2 separate regions of the Homo sapiens genome follow, and region 2 is linked to region 1. The links are contacts of gene promoters, found by promoter capture Hi-C in blood cells and fetal thymus (Javierre and others, 2016). All regions are on one chromosome and are shown on one strand. The core of a region is centred on a gene start or on the middle of the fragment in contact, and the rest is flanking DNA. Distances in the headings are between cores, read along the strand shown.

Region 1 (2,605 bases), core at 42-2,541:
CAAGGGAAGGGAAGGTTCTGGGAGAAAAGCAGGGGGCAGGCAGGGCCCAAGAATCCTGCTGCCCATGAGCCCTTACTGGGAGGTGGGGTGGCCTTGCACAGGGCCCAGGCACCTGAGTGAGTGGTGGGGTCCTTACGTTCACTGCTGGGGTGAGGCAATGAGCACCTTATTGTGTCCACATGAATTCAATAAAAAACAAGCAGGGCGGGTGGTGGGGCACTGACTAGGAGGGCTGATTTGTAAGTTGGTAAGACTGTAGCTCTTTTTCCTAATTAGCTGAGGATGTGTTTAGGTTCCATTCAAAAAGTGGGCATTCCTGGCCAGGCATGGTGGCTCACACCTGTAATCTCAGAGCTTTGGGAGACTGAGGTAGGAGGATCACTTGAGCCCAGGAATTTGAGATGAGCCTAGGCAACATAGTGAGACTCTTATCTCTATCAAAAAATAAAAATAAAAATGAGCCAGGCATGGTGCGGTGGCACGCACCTACTGCTAGGGGGGCTGAGGTGGGAGGATCACTTGAGCCTGGGAGGTTGAGGCTGCAGTGATCCCTGATCACAACATTGCATTTCAGCCTGGGTGACAGAGTGAGACCCTGTCTCAGAAAAAAAAAAAAAAAAGTCATTCCTGAAACCTCAGAATAGACCTACCTTGCCAAGGGCTTCCTTATGGGTAAGGACCTTATGGACCTGCTGGGACCCAAACTAGGCCTCACCTGATACGACCTGTCCTTCTCAAAACACCTAAACTTGGGAGAACATTGTCCCCCAGTGCTGGGGTAGGAGAGTCTGCCTGTTATTCTGCCTCTATGCAGAGAAGGAGCCCCAGATCAGCTTTTCCATGACAGGACAGTTTCCAAGATGCCACCTGTACTTGGAAGAAGCCAGGTTAAAATACTTTTCAAGTAAAACTTTCTTGATATTACTCTATCTTTCCCCAGGAGGACTGCATTACAACAAATTCGGACACCTGTGGCCTCTCCCTTCTATGCAAAGCAAAAAGCCAGCAGCAGCCCCAAGCTGATAAGATTAATCTAAAGAGCAAATTATGGTGTAATTTCCTATGCTGAAACTTTGTAGTTAATTTTTTAAAAAGGTTTCATTTTCCTATTGGTCTGATTTCACAGGAACATTTTACCTGTTTGTGAGGCATTTTTTCTCCTGGAAGAGAGGTGCTGATTGGCCCCAAGTGACTGACAATCTGGTGTAACGAAAATTTCCAATGTAAACTCATTTTCCCTCGGTTTCAGCAATTTTAAATCTATATATAGAGATATCTTTGTCAGCATTGCATCGTTAGCTTCTCCTGATAAACTAATTGCCTCACATTGTCACTGCAAATCGACACCTATTAATGGGTCTCACCTCCCAACTGCTTCCCCCTCTGTTCTTCCTGCTAGCATGTGCCGGCAACTTTGTCCACGGACACAAGTGCGATATCACCTTACAGGAGATCATCAAAACTTTGAACAGCCTCACAGAGCAGAAGGTGAGTACCTATCTGGCACCATCTCTCCAGATGTTCTGGTGATGCTCTCAGTATTTCTAGGCATGAAAACGTTAACAGCTGCTAGAGAAGTTGGAACTGGTGGTTGGTGGCAGTCCAGGGCACACAGCGAGGCTTCTCCCCTGCCACTCTTTTTTCTGAGGGTTTGTAGGAAGTTTCCTCAGTTGGAGGGAGTGAGAGCTGCTCATCAAGGACTTCTCTGTCCGGTTGGAGGTTAACTCTGTCTCTTGCTCTCTCATTTCTGCCTGGACCAAGACTCTGTGCACCGAGTTGACCGTAACAGACATCTTTGCTGCCTCCAAGGTAAGAAGCCGTCCCACGGTCTGTTTTAGCAAATGGGGAGATCCATCCCCAAATGTCTGAACAAGAAACTTGTCTAATGGAAAACGAGCGGGCCCAAATTAACTCTAAGGTGTTAGATGTTTTCAAAGAACGAGAAGTCTGATCTTTACTCTTAAGCATGTTTTGGTCTTTCTGGTTTCACTTGATTTAGAAGACATGTAATAGAAAGCTTACATGCTGTAGTCCTGACTCAGATCCTGGTCAAAGAAAAGCCCTCTTGGGTTTTACTTAGCTTTGGCATAGTGCCTGGAACGTAGGAGGCACTCAATAAATGCCTGTTGAATGAGAGAATTTTTCTGGCCCATACATTTCTGAAAAACCAAATACTCTCACAGAAACAGATATTGAGATGACAGGTTGAGGGAGCTTTCATTTTGTCTAAGAGACTTCCTATGGCAACAGAAAAGGTATCGCCAGAGCCCCTCCTCTTCCACAGCCTGGCCACCTAACAGCCCTCTGGGTTCCGGGGCTGGCCGTCCAGAGCTCCTCAGCTTGCTCTGGCCGGCCGAACTCCCCTCCAGCTCGGTCTGGAACCATCCTGCTGGGCAGCGTCCAGCACATCCCTGCTTCGGGCTGCCTGGGCACCTCGCCTCTCTGCCTCCTGTGCTGCCTCACCCCCACCCCTCTATCTGTAGTGGGAGGAGATAGATTTGACAGCTGATAGTGCATTTTCTCTGACAAACACATGACTACAGCCGTATCAATAGTTTTGTGCATTTCAGTTCCTGTTTTCATGGAAACACACGGCTGAGAATGA
Region 2 (2,605 bases), core at 106-2,605, 150 kb after region 1:
AAACACTTTGCAGGTATTAATCGCAAGTTTATAAGGTATGTACTATTTGTATCTTGATTTTAAAGTGAGGAAACTGAAGCCTAGAGAAGTCATAAGTTACTTGTCTAGGCCTCACAGCTAGTAAATGCAGAGCTGGAATAGTCTCCTGGTTCTCTTTTTCATGACACTGTCTGCTATCCTATTGCAGGAAGCAGGGTGGGCTCATCTCAGCCCTTTTTACTCATTTAGTGTCTTTGGGCAAGTCACCCAGCTCCCCAAACTCCATCTTCCCTGTCTACGGGACAAAAGGCTTCCTGTACCTATTTCACAGGCTGTGGGGGAAGGAAGAGCACGTAGAATGAGTGGATAGAGCTCTTTATGAACTGCAACACCAATGTGGGGTGCCGAGTTGGTTCCAGGGGGTAAATGGCTGCATCCCAAAACCAAATAGCTCTGATTTGTGGATCTGCTTTACATGATCATTCTTTCTTTTTTTTTTTTTCTTTTTTGAGATGGAGTCTCGCTCTGTCACCCAGGCTGGAGTGCAGTAGTGCAATCTCAGTTCACTGCAACCTCTGCCTCCCGGCTTCAAGCGATTCTCCTGCCTCAGCCTCCCAAGTAGCTGAGATCACGGGCACGTGCCACCATGCCTGGCTAATTTTTTGAATTTTTAGTAGAGATGGGGTTTCACCATGTTGGTCAGGCTGGTCTCAAACTCCTGATCTTAGGTGATCTGCCTGCTTTGGCCTCCCAAAGTGCTGCGATTACAGGTGTGAGCCACCGTGCCCTGCCATGATCACCATTCTTTTAACATGTTGGTGATTGTATACATAAGTAACAATCGACTCTACTAGGAAAAATGTATTCCCACAAGAGGGAAATTATCCCATATTCTGTACATGATATCACTTTAGTTAAAATAGAAATAATGTCTTTCTAAACTCACATTCCTCTAGCATTCCTACTCCTACCTTCCAGACCTAACCACTGCTATTCAGCCACCTGAGCTGGAGTGCAATGGTGGGATGTCGGCTCACTGCAACCTCCGCCTCCCTGGTTCAAGCGATTCTCGCTTGAAACGATTTCCGTGCCTCAGCTTCTCGAGCAGCTGGGATTACAGGCGTGCACCACCACGCCTGGCTAATCTTTTGTTAGAGACGGGGGTTTCACCATGTTGGCCAGGCTGGTCTCGAACTCCTGAGCTCAGAACTCCTGAGCTCAGGCAATTAGCCCGCCTCGGCCCCCCAAACTGCTGTGATTACAGGCGACAGTCAGCCTGTATTTATAGGCGCCTGGCCTATACTTAGATTCTCTTTTGCTCTCCAGATAGCCTTTTGCCTTGAACCCGCCTCACCTGTTTGGAACTGCCACACCTCCAGACTTCAACCTGGGGCCGGGGTGCCTCAGGTGTGCCTGCAGGGAAGAAAAAAGAAAGCAGAGACATCGAGATCTAGATTCTCTCCTCAAAGAAAAAAAAATCCTCCTCGTGGGAAGTGGGTGCTGATTTAAACATCAAAGACAACAGGTAAACGTCCATTGTGACCTTCCACGCTGTAGCTAGGCTGACAGCAACACTATGGGGTCCTCAGCAATTGCCGCCTCCCGCCTTCCTGCGCCCCCAAATGCCCCTTTCACCTGTTTCTCTCTGCAGCCCTCAAACACATTTGACCTAAATTTCCTGAGCTCCTGGTTTACATGTGAATGCACAGCACGGCAATTTGTTCCAATGAGGAGCCCTGAGGTTTGCGCCAGCCGCTCTCAGGGGTAAGTTTTGTGCCGAGCAGGATGTTCAAGACAGACTGCGCGCCGGTTTCGGGCACCGCCGAACATGGCTTCCCTGTTCCGTTTCTAATTTACAGCCTGAAGGTAAAAAGTACACTGATTAAATCCATGTTAGGAGGAGCAGCGGGGGCGGAATAAGCGAGCTGGGGAGGCGGCCGCGGGGCTGCCTGTTGCCCAGCAACGATGCCAGCCGCGGCCTGTGCTCCCCCAAAAGCCCGAAAGCACCGCGGCAGGCAGCCAGGAAGGAGGATGGGGCAGGGGTGCCGGCGGCTAAAGGAGATGGGGGCGCAGAAACCCCTATAGGGACCCATGCAACCCGCTTTCTCACCCTGGGAGACTACGCAAGGCTTTTTTGTTTTTTTTTTTTTGTTTTTTTGATACTTATGTTCGAAATCAAAAAGTGCACTGATCGAATCCGTATTAGGAGGATATGATTTAATCAGTGTACCGTTTAAATCCCCCCACACCCCTCCCCCCGACTGCCCTCTCTCCCACTTCTCATTGGCCAGCAACTTTCCAACAAAGGCCCAGTGGCAAAGACAGCCAGCCTTTCCCTGCCTGGCTGGTCAGTTTCTTTCTGAAAGAAGCAAAAGGCTCAGCTCCAGCTTTCGGGCCTAACTGCTCAGCAGGGCAAGTCAAAGTCCCTGTGGCTGGCCCAGAGGGCCTGGTAAGCTGGAGAAGCTGCGAATGGCGAAGCGTAGGTACCAGCTTTCACCATTAGGACAGCGCCCTCTGCTGGCAGTATCCTGAAGGGTCAGTTCACCGGGCTTCTGGTCCCCACAAAGTCTTGAAGTCTGAGGTGCTGATAACGGAACAAATGTGGTGAGCTCATTCTTGCCCTCTG

The links. Contacts are between HindIII fragments. The CHiCAGO score rates a contact against its expected background, and 5 or more counts as called.
Region 2: a contact is called between a fragment that was not itself captured here and the fragment with the promoter of IL4 in region 1, in 1 of 17 cell types (endothelial precursors). The highest score is 5.2, in endothelial precursors.

What each region holds. Positions count from the first base shown.
Region 1 is chr5:132,672,698-132,675,302 of GRCh38, forward strand. IL4 (interleukin 4) reads left to right here and starts at 1,292. Exons shown (of 4, transcript NM_000589.4): 1 at 1,292-1,488; 2 at 1,762-1,809. The coding sequence starts at 1,354. The HindIII fragment of the contact is 7,466 bases long and covers 1-2,015 here.
Region 2 is chr5:132,817,816-132,820,420 of GRCh38, forward strand. No RefSeq gene overlaps it. Among named protein-coding and RNA genes, the nearest start is that of SOWAHA, 5.8 kb to the left of the region's middle. RefSeq lists a silencer at 2,473-2,552. The HindIII fragment of the contact is 2,985 bases long and covers 1-2,605 here.